Linked DNA regions of Homo sapiens: region 1 is linked to region 2. Evidence: promoter capture Hi-C in 16 types of primary human blood cells and fetal thymus (Javierre and others, 2016). All regions are on one chromosome and are shown on one strand. Each heading gives the region's core, a stretch centred on a gene start or on the middle of the fragment in contact. The rest is flanking DNA. Distances are from core to core; before and after follow the strand shown. Region 1 overlaps PODXL2 (podocalyxin like 2). Region 2 holds the start of KBTBD12 (kelch repeat and BTB domain containing 12).

Region 1 (5,775 bases), core at 735-3,234, 260 kb after region 2:
AGACACACTGGAGACACGTGGAAGTCTAAGGGCTGGCTCCATGGATTCATCCCTGTCCTCAGGAAGAGCTGGGGCACTGAAGGATGAGAAAGGTCATCCAAGGCTCAAGCCCTCCAGGGAGAGGCTCGGGCTGGGCCTCGGAGCATGGGAGGCCACGAATGTCTAAGCTGCAGCTCAGAAGACACCTGGGGCAGACCCCCTCGTTGCACAGGAGAGCCCTGGAGGACCTCCTGGATTGATTGCAGGATAACACTTAGGCTCCTGGGCTCCCGACCCTCCCAGAACTGCTGGGAATGGCACTGTGAAGTCACAGCCCCCCCTGGTGGCTCTAAACAGAAACCACATGTTCCCCAGAGCCCTCAGAACAGTTGGGTCTCCAAATCCCAGACTCAGGGATTTTACAGGTAGACAGAGGCCCTGCAAGAGCAAAGGGCCCATCTCTCGCCTTTTCCACATGAGGGAGCCCAGGAGAGGAGGATTCTTGCTCTAAGTTGTGATGCTAGACTTGTCACAGTTGTAAAGTTGTAAGACTCTTAGACTCTTGTGTGGTTAAAGCCAGTGTCTTTTGACACATCCTGGTCATTTAGTCCAGCACCCGGGCTTGGCTTGGGATGCTGGACAGGAGCAAGCTGACAAGCAGAATCATGACCTCTCCCCAGTCTGCCCGTACCTTTGTGGCCGCAGCCAACCTCCTTAAAGCTGGGCTTGAATCACAAGAGTGGCTGGCGTTAAGAGCCCCAGGCCAAGCTTCAGGGTTCTGGAGGCATGGGCTGGAATTCTGGGTGGCCACTTGCCTCTGTGTGCCACACACCCACCTCTCCATGATGTGAGGCTAATACCTCAGGTTGTTACAAAGATGAAGTGGCATCAGGAATGCAAAACACCCAGCCCACAGAAGGCACACTTTCCTTCTGTCACACTCCATGTTCTCTGCTCCTCTCAGCATCCACACAGCCCAGCTCACGGCAGGTGTATCCGTGGTTAGGGTCAGGGTCCTAACACGGGAAGGGACCACAGGAGGCTACCTGACGAGGCCTCAGCCCTCTGGCAGGCACTGGTGAGTCTAGAGAAGATGGGCTGGCAATTATCTTCAAGAATATGGCTGGGTCTCTTTAGAGAGGCATTTCTGTGTTATTGACTTACCCCTACACCCCCATTTGCCTAAACCCAGCTGTGATGGTTCCTTTACAACTCAAGTCCATCTCTGTTTCATCTGGTAAGTGAGCAGCACCTGCTAGCACCGCCTTCAGAGGAAACAATGTACATAGTCTCTTAGTTGCCCCTAAACCTAGCTTCTTTTCCTGGGGCTAAACAACTGTAATTATTCTTTATTCTCAACCTTTCTGTTTTCATCCTTCTCTTGTGAAAACTCTGGATTCACCCTGGTGTTTTTTGTTTGTTTGTTTTGAGATGGAGTCTTAGTCTGTCGCCCAGGCTGGAGTGCAATGGCACGATCTCAACTCACTGCAACCTCCGCCTCCTGGGTTCAGGCGATTCTCCTGCCTCAGCCTCCCGAGTAGCTGGGATTAAAGTGCCCGCAACCACATCTGGCTAATTTTCGTATTTTAGTAGAGATGGGGTTTCACCATGTTGGTCAGGCTGGTCTTGAACTCCTGACCTCAGGTGATCCACCCGTCTCGGCCTCCCGAAGCGTTGGGATTACGGGTGTGAGCCATCGCACCCAGCCTCACCACAGTTTTAGGAGTATTACAGCTGGGCGCGGTGGCTCACGCCTGTAATCCCAGCACTTTGGGAGGCTGAGGTGGGTGGATCACGAGGTCAGGAGATGGAGACCATCCTGGCTAAAACGGTGAAACCCCGTCTCTACTAAAAATACAAAAAAAAATTAGCTGGGTGTGGTGGTGGGTGCCTGTAGTCCCAGCTACTCAGGAGGCTGAGGCAGGAGAATGGTGTGAACCCAGGAGGCGGGGCTTGCAGTGAGCCGAGATCGCACCACTGCACTCCAGCCTGGGCGACAGAGCAAGACTCCGTCACAACAACGACAACAACAAAAAAAACAAACAAAAAACAAAAAAGAGTGTTACAAAATCAGCACAGGGGGTACACAGTAAATATTTGCTGAATGAACTATTGAAAACTGAACAAGATTCACTAACTTGAGACTAATTGATGCAAAATGTAAAGGGGTTTCTCCACTCCAGTGGCACTACTGTCATTTATCACAGCTGGTAAGCTGAGCTCTCCCGCGCCCCCTGTGATGGGTTGGTGCTGGCTCAGATGCAGCTCCAGCTCACCCTGATGAAGCCCCAGGCCTGGGTCCCCTAGGCCTTATTTCTCCGCTTTCTTTTAAACTCATTATGGTGCTGGCTTTGTTCCCTAAATAGATCATTTTTCCCTCCTATATTTCATCACAGTTCTGTATAGGTTTCTTTCCCCAGTTTATCGAAGTCACTCTGGACTTTACTTCTATCTCTCAGGGCAGCCATAATCCCAGGGATGAACTTCAGCACAGGCTGAAATATCAATGAACTGATTCTTCTATTCAAGAGACAGAATTAAAACAGGCATAAGGGCCAGAGCCCTTGAAAGATCACTTTAAATGTCCCTTTAGGTTAATGTCAAGTCACTGAAAATTGTCCCCTCACTACAACTCTCAAGTCAGTTATCCAACTGAGTGTTAATATAAAAACACTCAAAATTAAAAATAAATATGTCTAAAACAGAGGTGCAAGGGAAGACGTTTTAGTATAACTTAAAACTACTTTTTTATTTAAGACAAAGTCTTGTTCTGGTGTCCAGGCTGGAGTGCAGCAGTGTGATCTGGGCTCACTGCAGCCTCTGTCTCCTGCGTTCAAGCAATTCTCCTGCTTCAGCCTCCTGAGTAGCTGGGATTACAGGCACCCACCACCACACCCAGCCAATTTTTGTATTTTTAGTAGAGACGGGGTTTCACCATGTTGGCCAGGCTGGTCTCGAACTCCTCACCTCAGGTGATCCACCCGCCTCGGCTTCCCAAAGTGCTGGAATTACAGGCGTAAGCCACCATGCCTGGCTTAAAACTACTTTTTGATAGTCAACCTCAATAGTCATCAAAGGAATATAAAGTAAACTGCAAAATGCCAAAATCTTTGGACTACCAACCTGACAAGTATATGTATACATTCAAAGTCATTCATGCCTAGTATTGGAAGGGTGAGGGATGGGAAGGAAAGCAGGCCACATTTCTGGAGAGCTACTGAGTCACAGGAACGAGAAGCTTTAAAGACAAATATTCTGAACCTACAATCTCACTTCTGGAAAGGTACCCTAAGGAGACGATTAGGGACGCTCACAGTCATGTGGCTTTATAGATCCCCATCATGGCACAGTCCATGTAGCAGAAGACTGGGGTCCAGCACCCACATGGCAGGGGACTGCCCAAAGAAATGATAGACCCGCCTTATACTGGGAGACCATGGCAGCCTTGAACAGGCTGCAGAGCTGTGTGTGCTGGCTTGGAAAGAGGTTTCTAAGTGAAACAGCAAGATGTGTATACCACAGTGTCCACTATTGTCCATTTTTTGTAAAAGCATATTTTTATATATGTCCTATAAAGGAAAAAAAAAAAGTCTGGAAAGAGCTGGGTGCAATGGCTCATGCCTGTAATCCCAGCACTTTGGGAGACCAAGGCAGGTGGATCTCCTGAGGTTTGGAGTTCAAGACCAGCCTGGCCAACATGACAAAACCCCGTCTCTACTGAAAATACAAAAATTAGCTGGGGGTGGTGGCACCTGCCTGCAGCCCCAGTTCTCAGGAGGCTGAGGCAGGAGAATTGCTTGAATCCGGGAGACAGAGATTGCAGTGAGCTGAGATCGCACCAGTGCACTCCAGCCTGGTCGACAGAGCAAGACTCCGTCTCAAAAAAAAAAAAAAAAAAAAAAAGAAATACAAAAATTAGCTGGGCATAGGGGCACACACCTGTAATCTCAGCTACTCAGGAGACTAAGAATCACTTGAACCCATGCAGCAGAGGTTGCAGTGAGCCAAGATCACACCACTGCACTCCAGCCTGGGCAAAGAGTGAGACTGTCTCAAAAAAAAAAAAAAGTCCAGAAAGAGATAGTCCAAAACGTTAACATTCACTGACTGAATCACTGGATTATAGGTGATTTTTATTTTCTTCTTTTAATTGCTGTTTTAAATTTTTATATGTTGATATTTATTACTAGCACAGAACAAGAATGACAAGGCTTTTGTTTTGGTGTCTAAGTAAAAGTGCTCTCTTTGTTGCTCTGTCCACAGGCTCCACAGCTATCGGCCCATCCTAAGGACATGGATACACCTGATGTGTGGGCAATGACCCAGAAGGTCAAATCATTCTACAGCAGACACAATCACAACAAGGCTTCGCTGTACAGGAACCAGCTCCAGGTCCCAGCAGACAGCTGCTCGGTCGGTCTGCTTTCTCCAAAATTGATTACGGCAATGATAATTAAAGTAGCCTAATGAAGGACTTTGTATTGAGGGGAGCAGCAGATCTTGAAGTAGAACTCTCAGATTTGAGATTTAGCTCTGCCACTATGTCATTTAGAGCCACTTTTAAATCTCTGTCAGCCAGCTTCTTTAGCTGTAAAACAGTGATCTAATCATGCCTGCTTTTACAGATTTCATCAGGTTGCTGTGAGGTTAAAAAAAAATCCAAGTGAAAATGACATATGAAGTATAGGCACTTTATGAGTGTTCCCTACTCAAGCACAGTACTGTTGTCTCATGCTCTCTTTCTGTTAATAGCACCTCAATTCTACTCTGGGGGACATTCCTCCTCTCTTTTTGGTCTGGAATGTCCCCTGGCTTCAGGGACAGCTCAACATGGGCCTGGACAGTCAAATTCCATCCCCAAGCTTGGGACTCAGGGAGACCATCCAGTGACTGTTCCTGAAGTGCTGGGAAGGCAGAGCTCCCTTTCTGCGGGGTGCTGAGTGATGGGACGACAGTGTGGAGCTACTGGGCTCTCCAAGCCGGTGCCCAGGACCAGCCTGCCTGAGAACGAAGCCAGCAAGGGAAAGCCGAGCATGACTGATGGGACAGGGCAGGCTCCAGCACGTTGAGGGCGGCACGCCGAGTGCTGGAGCTGGAAGCCTGTTCCTGGACCCCCGTTCTTCAGCCAATAAAGTCCCCTTTTATCAGACAGGCCCGTGAGCCTGTCTGAGTTGGGTATCTAGGACTTGCCAACCCCAAAGATTAAAGTGTTTCTTGCAGAACACTTTAATTTGCTCACTCACTAGGAAAATTAAAACTGCATGCAAGACAATTTCCTTAAGGAGCTTAGAAAATGAAAGGGCTAGAGGGGTCAGTGGGGACAGTCTCGAATGAGTAGGTAACCTGAGAGACTGCTCCTAATCATTAACAATTGTGCATGAATTAACTGGTCAGGCTGTAACTTCACTTGATGCTAGCTGGTGGAGCAGCAATTCGCATTCCATGTTTTTTTCCCTGCTTTGTTGAGGTTGCTCTTTTCACTTGAAATGTCACAGAATCATAATATTTTCAAGCTGCAAAGACTTCAATCTATTATTCCCAGGTCTCATTTTGCAGATGAAGAGACTGAAGCCAACATTAGAAAAGCAGCACACTCAAGGTCACACTGCTCATTATCCACCAAGCAGAAACTCCACCAGCTGTTTTTCCCACTGGGCCCGGGGACCATCATTACAGATGGAGAAGGAAGGCATCAGCTCTACCTGAGGCCCAACACACTAGAAATGGGATGTATGACAAAGTCCTAGTGACAGAATGGACTGGTTTCCTGTCTCACATGTGTCATCAATGTGCTCC
Region 2 (6,127 bases), core at 3,252-5,751:
GTAGGTAGCCCAATTTATGAGTGATTGGAAAAAACAAAAAATTATGACCTCCTTATCTAGTCTGAATGAAGACTGCTTTGAAAACTGTGGTTATAGCCCTCCCTCCACCTCAATATCGCTGGCATCCGCCTGTATGAGAGGGAAGAGCAAATACAATTCCTAATCCTGCTTCAGTGGGAAAAGAAGTTACTGCATTCCTAAACTGGCATGTATTTTCTCCCATAAAAATGTTCAGTGTGAACTTTGGGAGGCCGAGGTGGGTGGATCACAAGGTCAAGAGTTCGAGACCAGCCTGACCAACATGGTGAAACCCCGTCTCTACTAAAAACACAAAAATTAGCTGGGCATGGGGCTTGCGCCTGTAATCCCAGCTACTCAGGAGGCTGAGGCAGGAGAATCACTTGAACCTGGGAGGCAGAGGTTGCAGTGAGCCAAGATCGTGCCACTGCACTCCTGCCTGGGTGACAGGCTGTTTAAGTTATTTCCAAATTTTTGCTATTTCCGAGACCGTGTCTCGGAAAAAAAAAAAATTCAGTATAGTGAGTAGCTTATAATCATGATAGAGTTGATCAACATCAAACCCACTGATTTTTATCGAGGAAAGACTGAAGACAAGAGAAATGACTTGGACAGGGCTAAATTCCAGTCTGTGGATAGGACAGGAGCAGGGTCTTACACTTTGTTCCTTGGCAATCCAAGGAACATCAACATTATGATGTCAGAAAATGATGTCCCAGTTTCACTGTTTAAAAAAAACCATTTTTAAGGGTGGGATCCTTTTGTACATTGGTCACTACCGTGTATAAAGTTATTACCCCACATTACAAAAATATCCCGGGCCTGTTTTCACCAACACTACCCCTCATTCAGGCATTCTGGCGCCTCCCAAACTTTCCTGCCTCGTCTCCTGACTTTCCTTCCTTATATTTTTCAATCTTTGAGTAGTACCAAACTACTACAGTTCTAACGCATATGGGCCTTTAACACGCTGTTCTCTTTTCTTTTTCTTTTTTTTTTTTTTGAGACGGAGTCTCGCTCTGTCGCCCAGGCTTGAGTGCAGTGGCGCGACCTCGGCTCACTGCAAGCTCAGCCTCCTGGGTTCACGGCATTCTCCTGCCTCAGCCTCCTGAGTAGCTGGGACTACAGGCGCCCGCCACCACCCCCAGCTAATTTTTTGTATTTGTAGTAGAGACGGGGTTTCACCGTGTTAGCCAGGATGGTCTCAATCTGCTGACCTCGTGATCTGCCCGCCTCGGCCTCCCAAAGTGCTGGGATTACAGGCGTGAGCCACCGCGCCTGGCTAACATGCTGTTCTGTCTTTACACGTGTAAATCTGTGTCAGAAATATCTCCCCCATCTACCTGAAAAAATATAACCTGGTCTTCAAAATTCAGCTCAGATATCACTTCCTCACTGACGCATCCCTTTGCTTTCTTGCCTGTGTTGTGTACACTGTGGTTGCTGCACTGCTATTGCCATTCACTTTTGCAGATGCTTGCCTCTCCTGTCAATGATGAGCACACTGCGGGTAAGGGACTTGTCTTCGTCACTTCTGTATTCTTGAAAATGTTTACTTATTTATTTTAGAGACAGGGTCTTGCCCTGTTGCCCAGGCTGGGACCTCAGCCTCCCCTGTAGCTGCACCACTACATGCACCACTATGCCTAATTTATTTATTTATTTTTTGTAGAGACAGGGTCTTACTGTGTTGCCCAGGTGCGTCTCAAACTCCTGGCCTCAAGCAATCCTCCTGACCTGGCCTCCCAAAGTGCTAGGATTATATGCTTGAGCCACCATACCTGGCCATTTCTGTATTCTTGTCTGTGATGACACTTAGCACACAGGAGTTGCTCAATACGGTTTGTTCAATTAAATTAATGCTTTGTTTAGTCCTAAATTACAAGTTAATGATAACTTTTCTCTAGGTTTTGTACATGATAATAAAAGATTATATTCAAGATTTTTTCTACATATAAAATTTATTGTGATACTATAAAATATTTATTTGGTGTTTGCCCTTTTCCTGACATACAACTCCTAAAATCCTTGGAATCTCCAAAGTGATAAATACCTTTCTGTACACTAATGAGTTGACTGAGGGCTGGCAGCCTCTAGAGCTTCAGGATAGGAGCTGGTCCCCGGAAAGAATAAGGCAGGATTAGAGCATTGGGACTTTCAGCTCCATCCCCTGACCTCCAGGGAGAGGAGCAGAAAGTTAAGTTGATCACCAATCAAGCATGCCTATGTAATGAAGCCTTCCTAAAAACCCCAAAAGGACAAGGTTTGGAGAGCTTCCAGGATAGCTGAACATGTGGAGGGTTCCCGAAGTGTGGTGCACCTGGCTGTACCCCTTCCCCCATATCTCATCCTATATATCGCTTCACCTGTATCCTTGTTAATATCCTTTATAGTAAACCGGAAAACTTAAGCGTTCTTCTGAATTCTGTGAGCTGCCCTAGCAAATTAAACCCAAAGAGGGAACCCCAACTTGAGATGGGTCAGTCAGAAGCTCTGGATGCTGGGACTAGTGTCTGAAGATAGTGGTAGCCCTGTGGGACTGAGCTCTCAGCCTGTGGGATCTGACGCTGTCTCCAGGTAGATGGTGTCAGAATTGCACTGAGTTAGAGGACACCCAAGCTGCTGTCTGCTGCAGAACTAAGTGATTGGTTGCTGATGGGGAGAAGTCTCCACATACCTCTTGGTTAGCAGAGGTTACAGACATTTTCTGTGTTCATTGTGTGAGAGCAGCAGACAAACAGTTCTGTGTTTTTTCCCACTCGCCAACGCTTAATGCTTCAAGTTGCTATCCTCTTGTTCCAGTCAAATCATTCAGAATCGTGAAGTGACTCCCTTGCTTATAGCGTGATGCACTATGACACCCAGTTTTCACTTGCACCCTCAAAATTAATTCCCAGTCATTTGCTGTCTGGGATTTGGCCCCATTCTTAAGGAACTACTGAAGCCATGTATTGGCTTCACTTACGCCTGAGATTACAAATTGGCTGCTCAGTTTTTTTTTTTTTTTTTGCTTTTTGTTTTGTTTTTGGTAAATTAGCTGTCAACATGCTAAGCTGAAATATTCCAGCATCTACTGAAAAAAATGAAAGGTATGGCAACACTGAGTCCTTAATTCCCAAGCGGCAACAATGTGCAGGACCTGAGTACCCAGCTGCCACCTCTCAGCTGGCACATCTGCTGGGCCCCATTATCCTCTTTGAGACCTGAGGGACAGTCATTATTTGTAATTCTTACGCTGTTGCTTTTCTCTTTCCTGTCCATTTACATTATCCTACAGCCATTTAAGTTTGTGACCCCCAGTTTATACGATTACGTCTCCACACCCTATTTTGTTTCAGCAACACCATCTTGCTAAAATCCTACGCTTGCAGAGGCTGGTAGGAAATGGCTGAGAACACACGCACCACCCTAAATGTACTCTGTGCTTCTCACTAGCATGGAAAAAGACCTGATTCATTTCATAATAATCCATCCCACACACCGGGCATCCAGTAACAGCCAGGCACATGGATGATAAAGACAAATAAGACCAGTTTTCTTTTCTTTTCTTTGCCGAGTTCACACTGTTTTGCATTCTCACAGTGCTTTATACTTTTCAAAGTGCTTTAATCCGCATTATAGCTCATTAGTTCCTCTTAAGAATCATTTGGGGGAAAATGTAGGGCAATTATTCTCCTGGCTTTAAAGTTAAGAGAGTTGCTCAGGGATACATTCAGGGTTTATTAAACTTAAACGAACCCTTCTAAGTGCCAGGCACTATCCTAGGTTCCGGGAAGACAACCAGGAACAGGGAAGTGCCCCTTACCTTTGTTGTGCTTACAGTCTAGCGACGGAAGGCACAATAATACATTGGTCAGGTAATTCGGAGGATGATAATACTATGCAGACTACGAGCCTGAACAACCCGACGGTGAAGGTCGGAGACGGCAGAGATGGCCTGGAGGAGCAGCTCCTGGGAGCCCCACCTGACGCCAGGCGCCGGCCCACTGCGACTCGAAGGAAGTCACTTAGAGCCGAGGCTGCAAGTGCCGGTGGCCCCGGGTCGGCGCCCAGGTTCAACCTGGCCCGGAGTTGAGGCAGGGCTTGTGACTGGGGGCCGCGTTCCCCCGGGGCGCTACCCCTACTTACGAAGGTGCTGCCTGGTTCGGGGCGCGTCCCCACTCGCTGGGCCACGACCTGGCTTGGACGCTACCGTGTGGCAGGGCGGCCAGCGGGCCTGACTGAGGCCACTGCCCAATATGGGCCTGTGCTGGCTGGGCGATATAAATAGAGGTCCCGCGCCCTGCGGAGGAGGAGGGAGGGCGCTGGCAGCGCCTCCGAGGGGACAGGTGCTGCCCTCTGCTTGGAAGTGGCCCGAGACCACGCCGCCGCTGCCCTCCAGCCACTGTGCGCCTGCGCACCTATTCCCGCGCTGGTTCCAGACGGCGACTACAGCCCCGGTGTCGCTGCACAGGGTCTCCCCGCGCGCGTCCCGTACCCTACTGAGCGTCCCCCGCGGAACGCTGTGCGCCTGCGCAGAGTGTTCCCGCGCTGGCCCGCGTGCCAGAGCGACTGAAGGCCTGCGGGGAGGGGATGGGGACAAGTGTTTAAAGGAGGTTTGGAAATCGAGCTTTGAAAAATGCCGGTGTTCCCGTTAGTCTTTTACACTTGCAAAATGACCAAAAGACCCCGTGTGTAGTCTCACTGTGACCGGGGGGTAGGGTTGCCCGGTAAAATACATGAGCCCAGTTAAAGGTAAATTTCAGATACACAACCAGTAATTTTTAGTGTTAAGTATGTCCCAAATATCGCATGGTCAATTCACGTTTAACTCGGTGTTCCGGTTGGGTTTCGTTTTGGTCTTGTATTTTTATTTGCTACATCCTGAGCCATCAGCTTGTGATTTTTATACCCTACACCTCTCTGAGAGTGGGAGGTTTCCAGGAGTCCCGAGAAAGGACTGGTTAGCCGGGAGCAGTGCAGGGATGGGAAGTCTTCCTTAGGCAAGTGTCATAAAATACGGCAGCTGTATTAGCTCAGTTAGCTTAAACCAAAGCAAAATAAAACTGTTTTCAGTGGTGGCAACATAACTTTATTATCTTACTATTATTTTAGCTCTGTAGGTCAGAAGTCCAAAATATGTCTCACTGGATTGAAATCAAGGTGTCAGCAGGACTGTGTTTGTTTCTGGGGCTTCCTGGAGTGAATCTGTCCCTGCCCTTTTGCAGCTTCTGGAAACTGTCTTCATTCTTTTGCTCCTGGCTCCTTCCTCCAGCTTCAAAGCCAGAAAATAGGGCTGAGTCTTTCTCACATGCATTGTGTCTGCAGTTGGTTCCTTTCAGTGGGCTTGTGGTCTCCATCTCGCTAACTTCAAGAATGAAGCCACGGACCTTAAATGTTAAAGAAAGCTTTAAAGGTCACATGGACCCAAACAGTGAGGAGCAGCAAAATTTATTGTGAAGAGCAAAAGAACAATGCTTCCACAACCTAGAAATGGACCTGACTGGGTTCCCTGTGTTGACTGGGTGGCCAGCTTTTATTCCCTTATTTGTCCCTGCCCATGTCCTGCTGATTGGTCCATTTTACCAAGTGCTGATTGGTCCATTTTACAGTGTGCTGATTGGTCCATTTTACAGAGTGCTGATTGGTCCATTTTACAAACCTCTAGCTAGCCACAGAGAGCTGATTGGTGTGTTTTTACAGAGTGCTGATTGGCCCATTTTAGAAACCTCTAGCTAGCCACAGAGCGCTGATTGGTGCGTTTTACAATCCTAGCTGCAGAGTGCTGATTGGTGCATTTTACAATCCTCTTGTAAGACAGAAAAGTTCTCCAAGTCCCCACCCAACCCAGAAGTGCAGCTGGCTTCACCTCTCAGCATCACTTTGACACTAACTCTTCTGCCCACCTCTTCCTTTTTTTTTATTGTGGTAAAATATACATAACATAACATTTATCATTTTAATCATTTTTAAGCATAGTCAGTGGCATTATGTTAATAATGTTGTACAACCATATCCAGTATCCATTTCCAGAATTTTTTCATCCTCTCAAAAGAAACTTGGTACTCCTTAAACAATAACTTATTTCTCCCTCCCCTTTAGCACCTGGTAACCACTATTCTACTTTTTG

What was found. The method cuts DNA at HindIII sites, captures the fragments that hold promoters and counts their contacts. A CHiCAGO score of 5 or more calls a contact.
Region 1: a fragment that was not itself captured here is called in contact with the fragment with the promoter of KBTBD12 in region 2 in 1 of 17 cell types (endothelial precursors); the score reaches 6.1 in endothelial precursors.

The regions. Positions count from the first base shown.
Region 1 is chr3:127,646,895-127,652,669 of GRCh38, reverse strand. The region is part of intron 2 of PODXL2 (podocalyxin like 2); the gene reads right to left. Among named protein-coding and RNA genes, the nearest start is that of PODXL2, 21 kb to the right of the region's middle. The HindIII fragment of the contact is 2,470 bases long and covers 750-3,219 here.
Region 2 is chr3:127,913,606-127,919,732 of GRCh38, reverse strand. It overlaps KBTBD12 (kelch repeat and BTB domain containing 12), which reads right to left and starts at 4,501. Exons shown (of 6, transcript NM_207335.4): 1 at 4,147-4,501. It overlaps LOC107986129 (a long non-coding RNA gene), which reads left to right. Exons shown (of 5, transcript XR_001740896.2): 3 at 1,492-1,528. It overlaps LOC124909427 (a long non-coding RNA gene), which reads right to left. Exons shown (of 2, transcript XR_007096071.1): 2 at 5,067-5,387. The HindIII fragment of the contact is 5,822 bases long and covers 1-5,407 here.